Linked DNA regions of Homo sapiens: all the other regions are linked to region 2. Evidence: promoter capture Hi-C in human tissues and cell types (Jung and others, 2019). All regions are on one chromosome and are shown on one strand. Each heading gives the region's core, a stretch centred on a gene start or on the middle of the fragment in contact. The rest is flanking DNA. Distances are from core to core; before and after follow the strand shown. Region 1 overlaps ABCD4 (ATP binding cassette subfamily D member 4). Region 2 holds the start of SYNDIG1L (synapse differentiation inducing 1 like). Region 3 overlaps VSX2 (visual system homeobox 2).

Region 1 (4,392 bases), core at 171-2,670, 130 kb before region 2:
GCCTCAGTTTTTTTAATCTATAAAATGGAGCCAATAATACCTATGTAATAGGTTAGAGTTAGAATTAAAAGTTTCTAAATATAAAGTGCCAAGCACATAAGGAGCCCTCAATAAATAAAAACTATTGTTAAATAAACATACACAGAGCGGTCACTAGGTGTACCAGGCATTGCACTAGTTAGCTAGTGCAATAAAGAAATGAGAAAATTATCTCTGTCTTTGAGGAGCTCTCAGTCCAGAGGGCAGGCAGGCACACTGCATTCTTCACTTGGAATCAGGAGTACTAAGTGTGCCCTCAGGGCCATGGCAGCAGATAGGCTTAGCCATTAAGGGAGTCTGGGAAGGCTCTCCAGAGGAGGTGATCTGGGGTTTCAAGGATGGGAAGAAATTCGCTAGGCAGAAAAGGTGGAGGGAGATTTCAGATTTTGCACAGAGGCCACAGAAGAACTCATCTGAAACTCTACAAACTAACCTGCCTTCCCCAGAGCTTCATGAGCAGAGGCTGCAGAATCCAAAAGCAACTTTTTTCTTTTTTTTTTTTTGAGACGGAGTCTTGCTCTGTCACCCAGGCTGGAGTGCAATGGCAGGATCTTGCCTTACTGCAACCTCTGCCTCCCGGATTCAAGTGATTCTCCTGCCTCAGCCTCCCCAGTAGCTGGGATTACAGGTGCCCGCCACCATGCTCAGCTAATTTTTTGTATTTTTAGTAGAGACAGGGTTTCACCATGTTGGCCATGGCTGGTCTCGAACTCTTGACCTCAGGCAATCCACCCGCCTCGGCCTCCCAAAGTGCTGGGATTACAGGCATGAGCCACCATGCCCGGCCTCCAAAAGCAACTTTTTTACACACCCAGCCCTGCCCACCTCACAACCCCACCCCAGCGCAGATTCCCAGTATTCTTGGTGCCCTCAAGTGGTGGAGGTTGCAAACTGCAGCAGAGACTGAGGAGCAAAGGTCCCAGGGCTATCACATCCACCCCAAGTACAGAGCCAAGGAGTAGCTTCCACTTCTTAAACGCAAACCTCTGCCTGCACTATCAATCCTAACGCTGATTTCAGAGGCCTCACATAAGGCAGAGCACAGGGACCGGTTCTGGCCCTGGAGGGAAGGGATGGGATTTCATGCCGCTGCTGCTGCTCCTGCTGCTGCCGTCAGGAGACCAGACGCTTGGCTCCATTAGACAGCATTGTGGGGAGCAGGTCTCCTGGTTTTCTGAGAAGCTCCCATTCCATCCCACGCTACGGAGACAAAGGATCAGGCTTGAACCTCAGGCACTGGCAAGAAAGCTTCTTAACAGACAGAAGAGCAGAGGCAGACGGATGTCTTACAGTCACCAGCAAGAGGATGAGGCATTCATTCATTTGACAATTTCAGGCCCCACGCTAGGCCACTAAGACTAAAGCTGGCCACAGTAAGGAACCACCAGCTTCAGAAGCAAACCCCTGGACCTAAGGATGAGGCAGGCAAGGGCAGGGGGAGGTAGAGGGAGAGGGTCACAGCCAAGTGTGACAACACTCAGCCCCTGAGCTCGGTGGTGGTGGGAGGGTTGAGGATTCATCTTTCCTTCTCCACTCTCAGCTCTGGCAAGGCAGAAGGGGAACCATCTCTCCAGACTCACCTGTAGAAAGCAGCAGGCTCCGCATTCACCCGAATCTGCATGTGCTTGAACCTGGGCGGACCAAAGGGAAATGTGTGCTGACAACAGGGAGTACTGGCCTCACTCTTGTTGGAGTCCTGGATCACAAAGACCGCCCAAGCGGAGCCCGGCTCTGCCTCAAAACCGTGGCTGCCTCAGTCTGACCCTTTCCTGGACTGTTATGGGGTAGAAAACCCCAGGGCTAGGTGGTGTGGCAGGAGCTCTGCAGAGACAGGGCTGCCCCTCAGCTTTCTGCAGAGAGGACAGGGGTATTCCTGCTCACAGCATCTCCTCCTCCCAGGGCCTGGCCCAAAGGAGGGGGACAAGAAGCACAGGGCAGGCACTGGATCCATTGGCTGCCACACCCAACTGATCCAAGACAGGGCGGTTATGCCAGGGCAGTGAGAAGGCCAAGAGATGACAATGACGATGGTGATGGCCAGGCAGACACGGTTCTCAGACCTTCTCAGGTATGATTTCATTAATCCTCCTAATCCTCTCAGTAGGCAACGGTACCATTTCCACTTTAGAGACAAGAACATTGAAGCTTGGAGAGGTTAAAGACCTCTCCAAGATCACACAGCTAGTAACTGGCACAGCTAGGATTTGAACTTAGGCAGTTTTACTCCAGATCCCCTTCCTTAACTATTATGCCCCAGCCCAGAAACCTCAAGTGAGGGAGACACACCTAAAATCTCCCTCCAGCTTCTCCTGATGCACCAGCTTCATCACAATGGGGCCCATCAAAGTTTTGTTCACCACGGTCCCCAGGATGAAATACCCGAAGATGCTCACAGGCCCGAGCCAGCCTGTGCTGAAATAGAGAGAGAGGGAGAGAAGGGAGAGGGTGTGGGGTGCCACCTATCCCCACATGCCTCAGCCCTGACTCCTGTTCCCTCTCAGGTAGCCCCTGTCCAATCTGAGTGGCCCAATGGGCCCTCTGCTCCTATGTGGGGGCATCTGGTATGAGCTCTCAGAGCCAGGATATCTGTGACACTGCAACACAGGGCCAAAGGAAGGGCAGGGGCCTGAGCACGTGGGATGGGTGAGCACGTGGTAAGGTACGGTGGGAGAGAGGGGAAATAAGCTTCTCTTGGACCTTGACCTGGGAGAGCTGACTGAGGGCCCTCTGGGGAAACACCAGGCTGGGGAGGAGGGAGGCTTCACCTTTGGAAGCACTGGTAAGTGTAGTAGACGAGGGTGAACGGGGAGATGATGAGCTTGCTGGCCATGCTGCTGAGCTGCCGGCAGAATCGCTCCACGTCCTGGCTGATGCGCTGGTCCCTGGAGCCAATGACACAGAGTAGCTGGACCCAGGGAGATGGGCCCAAAGGTAGAGAGAACAAGAAACTTTCACATCACCTCTGCTCTTGACCTTGCCTCACAGTGCTGTGAACACTGACCCTATGGGAAGAGGGAACCAGACAAGGCTGGTTTCCTAGGGGCAACTAAATCCCAGGGCCTTTAAACAGGGTTCTAGAGAGTTGCATCTTACGGTGCCTTAGTTAATCCCCTGAAAAAGTGGGAACTGAAAGGTCCAGTACCCAGGGGCCTGAGCCAGCTCTGAGCAGAGCCAAAGAAAAACTTGAAGGTAGATGAGCTGTTTTGGATGATCAAGAAGACTATCCCCTTTATCTCAATCCTCCCAAATTTCTCTTATATAAGCCCTAGCCTGGCCCCTTTAGTTATCTGGCTGTGAAAGCTCCAGGCTGTGAGGCACACCTGTAGTCCCAGCTACTCAGGGGGCAGAGGCAGGATGGAAGCCATAGCCATCAGAAAGAGGCCTAGAAGTTAGGCAGCAGCAGCAGCCTCCCACGCATCTTTGCACCAAAGCTAAGCTTGAGCTGAGAGGTACCCCAACCAACAAAGTGCTTGCTAGGAAGGTGGTGAGTGAGGGGATGGGTGTGAAGGAGACCCCCTATGTCTCATCTCACCACTAGGGCCATACTGATTCCTATTCCCAATGAGTGACGTGACCTTGGGCAAGTCACTTGCAATCTCTGGGCTTCAGCTTCCTCATCTGTAAAATAACAATAGCTAACTTACACTGAAACACTTGCTATGTGTCAAGCACTGTACATGTGCATTACATGAATGATATTTCATCCTCACTACACCCTTTGAGATAGGAACTATTATTGTCCTCATTTTACAGAAGGGGAACCTGGGGCTTGGTGACTTTAAGAGTTATAACCTGAGTGGTGATAGAATGGAGATGTGAATCCTAGACTGAGTCCTGGATAGTGGTAATTTTTTTTACTGATGAAAATCTAAGAGCTGGTTTTTCTAGCAAGGACATTTTCTTTAGAACCCTCTAAAGAAACCCCTTAGTCTTCTTACTGGAAGACTAAGATATAAAGTATGAAAAGGACAAAAGAAAGCTGCTCCTAACATTTTTCTTTTTTTTAAGAGATGGGGGTTTCTGCTATGTTGCCCAGGCTAGAGTACAGTGGCTATTCCCAAGTGTGCTCACGGTGCACTACTCCTGGGCTCAAGTGATCCTCCTGCCTCAGCCTCCTGAGTTGTTGGGACTACAGGTGCATGCCACTGCACCTGGCAGGCTTCTTCTTTTTAGCTGCCTATTCACAGCCCTGCAGCTTCTCCAGGAGTCCTCTGCAGGGCACCCTCCCCCATGACTCTGGGCAGCAGCATTTGAAAACGACTGCAGATGATCTCCTTGGTGTCTGCCACCAGCAGTCTCCAGGGCTAGGCCAGAAGGAAAGGACCACACAGAGTGTAGAAAGGACTGAGTTGG
Region 2 (4,804 bases), core at 2,149-4,648:
GAAGTGATTCATGCCTCAGCCTCCCGAGTAGCTGAAGTTACATGCCTGGCTACTTTTTGTACTTTTAGTAGAGATGGGGGTTTCGCCATGTTGGCCAGGCTGGTCTCGAACTCCTGACCTCAAGTGATCCACCCGCCTCAGCCTCCTAAAGTGCTGGGATTACAGACGTGAGCCACTGCACCTGGCCACACAATTTCTTAATGACCATGTTGCATTTATTCTTCCTCTTTCTCAGCAGCCCCCCCGCCCCCAAGATCACCCAATCATGTGCCATATGCCAGGGTTGACTCCCTTCTTCCCTTTGAGGCCTTGTAGAAGGGCCCAGAATAAAAGCCTCAGCAAGGAGGGAACAAGAGGGGAACACAGGAAGCAGCCAATGGGTAGTTTTCCCCGGTCAGGAGAGGAGCCAGATGTCATCTGCCTGGGTGACCAGAGATGCCCTGCACCCTGACAGCTCTGGGAGTGGGGTGTCCACCCAAACAGCTGCAGAAGGAAGGCTAGTGTATTGTCCTCACCCCAGTAGCAGGCCAGCTCCTCTGCAGACCAGCCTTGCAGAAAAGAAAACACCTCACTAGCTTGCTGTTGCTGCTGCTGCTGCCGTCACTTTGTTATGAGGGTTAGTGACTGTCCATTAACTCCAGAGAGCTGATTCTTGCCAGTGCTGCACCAACAGCTGGGAGCCAGAAAGCGATGACGTGAGGAGGGGGGACTGGTCCCCCACCCTGGCTGGGCACTCACAGAATAATTCGGCGAGGTCACTGGCATGGTTTACTCAGCTCTACCGAAATGCCAATTAGCTAAGGTTTTTCTGAGCATCGGCTGGACCTGCCACAGTTGAGGGAAATTATTATCAGAGAAACTCATTTTGATTGATATATATATACACACACACACACACACACACGTAACACAAATATAAATTCTCTGTAGGGATGGATATTTCCTGCTTGTCCCCTCCTCTGGTCTTCCTAGGAGGGAGATCATAGCCAGGCAGGGTCCCTGGTAGGAGATGGCCAATGGTGGGGTCCCTGGCCCTTTGTTACTCACAAGAGATGGTGGTGGTGGTGGTGGTGGTGGTGGCAGGGATAATGGGGTGGTGGTTCCTGGCCTCTGGGCTTGGAGGCAGGAGCCCCTCTCAGTTCAGTCATTCTGAGTCACACTTATGGCTTTCCCAGAGAAATAAGAGAGGGGGTTCTTAAGAAAACATCAGAAATATAAATGGCTTTTTCTGGTTCCTATTGCTCACTTTCACTCCATTCATAAAATCCAGTTCATTACTAAAAGGTCATTAACTTTGTTGTCAAACCAGGTTGATAAAGCCGGCATCCTGTATTCAAGCAGAATTGAGGGGTTTATGGGTTTAGGACAGCCTCAGAAAGCCCTACAGAATATCAGGGCTTGAAATCTTAACTCATCTAGCCCAACTCTCTTCTTTTACAGATGAGAAAAATGAACCCCCAGAGGGGAATGGACCTGCCTGAGACAGCGGCGGATCTGTGACCAGAACACAGGGCTTCTGACTCCCAGTTAAATGCTTTTATTCTGATACACTTTAACATTTCATTCCCTCATTTTACACCCGATTACCGAGTCCTTACTATCTTCCAGGTGCTGTTGGGGAGGGGGTCATGAAGGGGGACAAAGAGATGAAAACAACACAATTCCTGCCTTCAGGGAGCTCTTTCCCTAGATCTGTGGTTCTTAGGGAGAAAAAATAAAAACCGGTGAGTCAGACTCTTACCTTATATTATCTCCTATAGGTGATGATGGAAGAGGAGAAGAAGGGAGGGCACACTTTTTTCTCCTTAAGGTTTATAAGTTTGGCTTCACTGATTCTGGGACCCCACGGTGGCCAAGGACAAAGGGAGACATGGCCATGCTGGGAGAAGAGGGGGTAGGGGTGACAATAATCAGGTCACTGACAGCAGGCCTGGCTAGGGGTTGGGAACAGTGACAGCAGCGCACACTGGTATGGAGATGTACAGGTGGCAAGCCTCCAATCAGGTGCATTGTTTTTCATTGGGCCCCAAGGCAGTTCCCTGAGGTGAGCAGAGCGGTGACCTTATCCCCACTCCAGGGGTGAGGAGGATGAGGTTGAAAGAGCTTAGGGAACTAGCTAAAGCCAGTAAATGCCAGCACCCAGCCAGGAACTCCTACTCTAGTGCTCTTTCTACCCCTGGGGGTAGGGAAGTTGTGTTGGGTTGGAGGGTGGGGATAAAGCAGTAGAAAGAAGTGGTCAGCCACAAGGGTAGGCCAATTCTTCCTCCACGCAGTTTTATTTTGATCGCTACATTCTGCCAGTCATAGAGAACTCTGCTCTGAAGAACTAGAAGCACTTTGCAGGCCTGAATGAGCTCATTCAGCGCACTCTTGCCAGAAAGAGAGAGAACTCCTAATGGAGGCTCTGTCTAGGGTCACCAGCACATAATAGAAAACAGGACCCAGGTTCCCTGACTCTTTGCCCTCATGCGCCAAGAGATGTGATGCAAATCCTGCCTGCTTCTGTGAGCGTCAAGAGTGTCATAGGAAAAAAAATTGAGGTATCTTCCAGGACCTCCTTCCTTCCCTGAAGAAATGGGTTAATCCATCCTAAGGGGCCTTGGCCCAAGAGCCAATCCCTTGGCCCAAGAGCCATTTCCAGGGCAGAGAAATCTCAGAGCAGGGGGTACCACAGCCACCTCAGTCACCTGGGTGAACAGGTTTGGGTGCGAGAAGAGGGGAGCTTAGTGAAGCCTGCTCAGATTTTGCTAGTGTCGCAAAACCTTGGTGGGGACTGGGGTACCAGGGAGTCTGAGGCTCTAATCAGTATTTCTTGCCGTCAGTAGGCAGGATGTCTAGGAGCTGCCTGAGGTCAGGGTCAAGGCCTGATGTTGTGAGGTTATGGTGTCTTGACCCCAGTTCATCAGCCCCCTCCCAGCACCCCCAGCCTGCAGGATGAGGGGTAGGGAGGGACGAAGTGCAAGCCTTGGCGGAGCGCAAGGTGCGGCCAAGCAGGGAGTCAGAGCCCCTAGCCCCGAGAGGGCTCCCGTGCCCTCCCCAGCTCACTCCCCGCTCCGTGCCTAGCTCTGCGCTCCCGCGGCGCCCCCAGACCGCCCCTTACCTGTCCCGCCGCGGACGGTCCCGCCTCCTCCGCGGGGCTCGGGGGCTCGGCATGGGCCGGTGAGCGACGGCGCCCCCGCCTCGCGGTCGCGGTGGAACTCCCAGGAGGGCTCCCCTGCTCTCGTCCCCGCGTCCCTGAGCAGCCGCCGCTTCAGCACCGCGGACAGCTCCCGCCCGCAGCCCGCCGCCGCCGCCCGCCCCGCCCCGCGCGGTCCCGGGAGCCCCGCATCCTGGCCGGGCCCCGCCGCCGCCGCCGCCGCGCAGCCCTCGGCCCGGCCCGAGGCGGCTCCGCGCCGACTTGGGAGAGCAGCGAGGAGGGTCCCCCTCCTTCCCGCCTCCCGCCGCCGCCGCCTCCCTCTCGCTTCCGTGCTCCGTGCTCCCTTCCACGCTCCGGAATCAGCCCACCAGGCACTCCGGACCCGGCTCCGGGGCGGGGCGGGGCGGGAAGTCGGGGGAGCCCGGAGGAGGCGGCGAAGCGAGGGGCGCGCAGCTGGAACCCGCGTACCCGCTTCCTGGAGCCGAGCCCTCTTTCCCAGCCCTTCTCTCCCCTCCTCCCGCGCACCCCAGAGCGATGGGAGGCCCTTGGGCTTCTTGAAGCATTTTGGAGCTCCTAGGCTCCAAAGCCAGCCCTGAGTTTTTAACATTGATCTGCCCTAAAAAGAAAAACAAACAGAAAGCATTTATTGAGCACCTACTATATACCAGATACCAAGCCCGATAATGTGTTTAATCAACATAAGCTCATTTAATTTTCTTAACAACTCTATTAGGCAATATAGTGCCCCTCTTCCCCTCTTCCCCTCCCCCTGCCCCCCTCCCCCTGTCCCCCTTCCCCCTCCAATTTTGCAGACCAGGACGCTGGGCTCACAAGGATGAAATCCTGTGATTTGGAGATTCAGTGCTGTGCTGGGAAGGGCACAGGTTTTAAAGCTCATGGACCTAAGTTTTGGTCCTAGGGTCCCACTTGCTGTATAACCTCGAGCAAGTTACCTAACCTCTTAAAGCCTCAGGTTCCTCATGGACAAAGTGAGGGGTCATATGAGGACAAAATGAGATGACATACGTGACACATTGGCACTCAATAGGCACTCAGTGAGTGAGCGTCCCCCTGAGTTTTCCCAGCAAGAGCCCTGAGATCCGAATGCAGGCCTTTTGGCTGCTTTGTCTCCACCCTGTGCTGCTCTTTATCCACCTCCACCTGCGTTTCCTTTTTTTTTTTTTTTTTTGCATGGGGATGCCCTATCTTGAGTGTTACCAGTGGATGAACCTATTCTTCGAGCGCCTTCACAAGGTCTTGAGTCTCACCAAAGTCCCAGGAGGTCAGGAGGAGAGAGTATTCTCATTTTCTGAAGGTAAGTGTGGGTTTGCAAAGTAAACCACAGAGCAGGCTGCAGCTGGGGCTGGAAGACACAAGGAACCAGGGTCTGGCAGTGGGATTCCACTAGCATCCACTAGTCTCCTAGCATCCAGCTGAGGATGCTATAGCACATAGCATGGTGGACTCCAGGACTCCTTCACTCCCACAGGATGTGGGCATCTGGCACAGTTCGGTGTAGCTCCTAGAGTGCACAGTAGGAGCCAGGAGCAAGTCCACATCATGGGGCTTGGGTCTCCTTCCCTTCAAGGCAGGACAGAGAACTCCCTTATCCTGGGGTCTGTCTCAGGGCTGGTATTGGTGTTTAACTTGTTGGGTGCTAAATATATT
Region 3 (4,415 bases), core at 569-3,068, 160 kb before region 2:
TGTAAAGATACAAGTAAGAATAAAATTGACTTAAAAATAGTAGGGGAGAAATCCAGGAGTCCACTGTGGGTGGGGAATGGTTTGTGTTCCGTGTGTATGGGTGGCATAAAAAGTAAATCTACGGCTGGGTGCGATGGCTCATGCCTGTAATCTCAGCACTTTGGGAGGCCTAGGTGGGCAGATCACTTGAGGTCAGGAGTTCGAGACCAGCCTGGCTAACATGGTGAAACCCTGTGTCTACTAAAAATATAAAAAGTAGCCAGGGGTGGAGGCACACTCCTGTAATCCCAGCTACTCAGGAGGCTGAGGCAGGGGGATTGCTTAAACCCGGGAGGTTGAGGGTGCAGTGAGCTGAGATCATGCCATTGCACTCCAACCTGGGCAACAGAGCAAGACCCTGTCTCGAAAAAAAAAAGTAAATCTACAAGTTGATATTTTAGGTCAAAATTACTGGGTTCCTTTTTTAAAAAATTACTCTAATTGTAGAGGTACAAGTGGCCTACGTCTCTCCACTGAGCCGATACCACCCTTCAATGACATTCGTCACTGTGACATGGGATTGGCCTCCATGATCGACACAACCTAAATGTCCCAACGATCCATAGTTCTTACCTCTGACTCCCTCCTACTCCCCACATAGTAGTCGGCATTTGCCTCTCTCCTTGGTACTGACTTACTGATAACCCTGTTTCCTACTGCCCTCTGCGGAAGCTCACAGCCCACCTTGGCCCCCAAGAGAACTCCCTTCCTTTTGTGCACACCTGTGCCCTTCCACATCTTACCCTCAACCTAAACAACAACAAACGAAAGAGGTAACAGTATCTGGAGTTGAAAGCCAGACAGATTATGCTAAATCCGTGTCAAAGGGAAGGAGAGTCAAAGAGAAACAGCTCGAGGAAGACCATATGAAATTGTCTACTGACAGCTGTGACCCACCGACTTGATGATGTGATGGATGGAATTACGAGATGAGAGAGCGGGGTGAGCAGATGAGATAGGCTGTATTTGAGATTTGGGCCCAAGAAATCTCGTAAGATTGTTTCAAATTGGCTTAGATGTGAACTCCCTCGTGGATGAGGTTTCTGGCAGCCCATCAGCGAAGGAGAATGACAGGAGGTCAGCAGTCCTAATACCCTGGATTGGACCCAGATGTGGTCCTCGCAGACCAGGACCCTGAGGGGCACATGTGGGAAATCTCCAGCTCCTGTGTGGGGATGGGAAAGAGCCATGAGCCTGGCTTCAAGTCCTGCCGTGCCAGGCTGCTCCCAGGCCTTCCCCGGCATGTCAGCTCCTGCAGGATTCATCCTCGGTCTGGGAATGTCTTTCTCCAACCCTCCAGGAAGTAAACCACTTGTCAACCTTCCAGTCCCCTCCCCTCCGAAGCCCTCCTGACCTTCCAGGAAGAGTGTATTTATTTGCTGATTTATTTATTTTTGAGACAGGGTCCTGCTGTTGCTCAGGCTGGAGTGCAGTGTTGTGATCATGGCTCACTGCAGCCTTGAGCTCTCAGATCAAGGTGCCCTCCCAACTCAGCCTGCCGAGTAGCTGGGACTACAGGTGTGCATCATGCTGGCTGATTTTTAGTAGAGATGAGGTCTCACTATGTTGCCCAGGCTGGTCTTGAACTCCTGGGCTTAAGCAATCCTCCCACTTCAGCCTCCCAAAGTGCTGGGATTACAGGAATGAGCCACTGCGCCCAGCCAGCAAGTTTATAACCTCTGTTCTCTGACAGCACTTGGGACATTCCTGATTATGGCATTTTCCACGTTGTGTTGTAATTTTTTTTTTTTTTTGGAGATGGAGTCTCACTCTGTCGCCTAGGCCGGAGTGCAGAGGCAGGATCTCGGCTCACTGCAACCTCCGCCTGCTGGGTTCAAGGAATTCTCCTGCCTCAGCCTCCTGAGTAGCTGGGATTATAGGTGCGTGCCACCATGCTGAGCTAATTTTTGTATTTTTAGTAGGGACAGGGTTTCACCATGTTGGTCAGGCTGGTCAGGCTGGTCTTGAACTCCTGACCTCGTGATCTGCCTGCCTTAGCCTCCCGAAGTACTGGGATTATGTAATTTTTTTATTTACAAGTCTATCTTTCCCATAAGACGGATTTCTTCAAGGGTGGCACTACATCTTCTTCTTCTTTTATCCCAGGACCCATCAAAGGGCCTGACCCTCAATCCATTATTGAATGCACAGATGAATGTTCTGCCTATAATTCATCATTTATTCAATAATTTAAAAATAATGACTGAGCATTTAATATGTATCAGGCAGTGGGGCAAGGCACTGGGGATATAGTAGTAGGCAAAGCAGTCCCAGATTCCCTGTTTTTTTTTTTTCTTTTTGAGACAGAGTCTTACTCTGTCACCCAGGCCAGAGTGCAGTGGCACAATCTCGGCTCACTGCAACCTTCGCCTCCTGGGTTCAAGCAATTCTACTTCAGCCTCCTGAGTAGCTGGGATTACAGGCATATGCCACCACATCTGGCTAAATTTTTGTATTTTTCATAGAGATGGGGTCTCGAACTCCTGACCTCAAATGATCTGCCTGCCTTAGCCTTCCAAAGTGCTGGGATTATAGGTGTAAGCCACCGCGCCTGGCCCCAAGTTCCCTGTTCTCATGGCACTTACAGTCTGGAGGGAAAGACAGCATTTAAGTAACCATACAAATAAAATATAAAATTGCAAATGTCCTGTGAACTTGGAGGCATGCTGTAAGAAACCGTGAAAGCATCTAATAGGATGACCTGACCATCTGTGGGCCTTGGGCCGGGGTGTTTACCCTCTCTCTGTGTTATAAAATGGAAGAGTAACATCTGCTCCGCCCGTTGTGGCGTAGAGTATCCAGGAAGAAGCGAGGACGTGGAGAAAGGCACCGTACAGCACAAAGGAAAGGTGGAGGGGCCAACGCAAGCCTCTCAAGCCCAGGGGGCATCCTTGGCAGCTGCCCCACCCTCGGGTAGGCCTAGGGGACAACTGGGACACTCAGAGCCTTGGGAGATAGCAGAAATCCTCTTGGACGATCACCTCAGGGGATTTGCCCGGAGGAGAAGCAAGCAGCTCTCTGCACAAGGAAATGCAAATAGGTTTACAAGTAATCGATGAGGGGAGAGGCTGGACAGGAAAGGAAGGCCTGGATGGCCAGGCCCAAATGAGGCAGAACAAAGAGAGAAGTCCTGTTAGGTGGGATTGTACCCCAGGAGTGTCTTCTTCCCTCTGACCCTGACACCTGGCTCCTGGAAGGGAGATTTTATTCCAGGTTCTGCTGGGCTAACAGGCTGCCAAGAGATGGCTGCGTGCCCCAAGAAGAGCAGCAGAGAGCTACAGGGGCAGGAGGGGCTGGTTCATGAGGATTGCGGGTGCTGGTGAGCAGGCCTGGCAGGGAAAGATGAGGAGGAGTCTGGCTGGGAGTGGGAGAGTGGCAAGCAGGGCTGGTGACAGTGGGGGAGTTTCTGAGGCCAGTCCTATGGCCTGGAGAGAGCAGCTGCTGCAAGAAAGAGGGACTCGATCTCAGGGATCGCTGGGACCTTGGTCCCAGCCTCCTGCTGGCCCTCCAGCCTCTTGTGTCTCCTGCACCCAACAGCTCACTGGGGCCTTGAAGTCTTTCTCCTACTGCAGTGCCTTCCCCACCTCTCTTCAGAGTGTGGAGCTGAGGCAGCCTGGCCCATCAATTTCAACAGAGGTACCATACTAATATCGATGTCAATAAGAGGCAACGCTGGGTGAGGGGGTGTCTTAGTCTATTTTGTGTGGCTATAACAGAATACCATGGACTGAGTAATTTATAAAGAAAAGAGAGACTGGTGTGGTGGCTCACACCTGTAATCCCAGCACTTTGGGAGGCTGAGGTGGGTAGATCACTTGTGGCCAGGAGTTCGAGACCAGCCTGGCCAACATGGTGAAACCCCATTTCTAGGAAAAATACAAAAATTAGCTTGGCGTGGTGTATGCCTATAGTCCCAGCTACTCAGGAGGCTGAGGCACAAGACTTGAGCTTGGGAGGCAGAGGTTGCAGTGAACCAAGATTGCACCACTGCACTCTAGCCTCGGCAATGGAGCCAGACCCCAGCTCAAAAAAAAAAAAAAAGAAAAGAAAAGAAAAGAAATTTATTTCTTACAGTTCTGGAGGCTGGAAAGTCCAAGGTTGAGGGACTGCATCTGGTGAGTGTCTTCTTGCTGCGTCACAACATGGTGGGAGATAAAAGGGCACAAGAGCATGTGTTAGAGAACAAGAGGGGGCCGACTTTGCTTTTATAACAGGCCTACTACCATGATAATGTTAATCCATTCTCCCTTATGACCTCATCAGCTATTAGGACCCACCTACTAACACTGTCGCACTGCAGATTGTGTTTCCAACACATGAACGTGGAGGAACACATTCAAACTACAGCAGGGGGTTATGAGGTCTCTGTACTATGG

Evidence for each region. Contacts are between HindIII fragments. The study calls those that stand out against the background at their distance.
Region 1: a contact is called between a fragment that was not itself captured here and the fragment with the promoter of SYNDIG1L in region 2, in 3 of the 25 tissues and cell types used here (H1 embryonic stem cells, lymphoblastoid cells and mesendoderm cells).
Region 3: a contact is called between a fragment that was not itself captured here and the fragment with the promoter of SYNDIG1L in region 2, in 3 of the 25 tissues and cell types used here (H1 embryonic stem cells, mesendoderm cells and thymus).

Annotation. Positions count from the first base shown.
Region 1 is chr14:74,293,529-74,297,920 of GRCh38, forward strand. ABCD4 (ATP binding cassette subfamily D member 4) reads right to left here. Exons shown (of 19, transcript NM_005050.4): 5 at 2,805-2,921; 6 at 2,326-2,451; 7 at 1,620-1,670. Among named protein-coding and RNA genes, the nearest start is that of ABCD4, 7.2 kb to the right of the region's middle. The HindIII fragment of the contact is 3,358 bases long and covers 1-3,099 here.
Region 2 is chr14:74,422,812-74,427,615 of GRCh38, forward strand. It overlaps SYNDIG1L (synapse differentiation inducing 1 like), which reads right to left and starts at 3,399. Exons shown (of 4, transcript NM_001105579.2): 1 at 3,101-3,399. The HindIII fragment of the contact is 14,133 bases long and covers 1-4,804 here.
Region 3 is chr14:74,262,700-74,267,114 of GRCh38, forward strand. VSX2 (visual system homeobox 2) reads left to right here. Exons shown (of 5, transcript NM_182894.3): 5 at 1-39. Among named protein-coding and RNA genes, the nearest start is that of VSX2, 25 kb to the left of the region's middle. RefSeq lists an enhancer at 2,830-3,330. The HindIII fragment of the contact is 8,384 bases long and covers 1-4,415 here.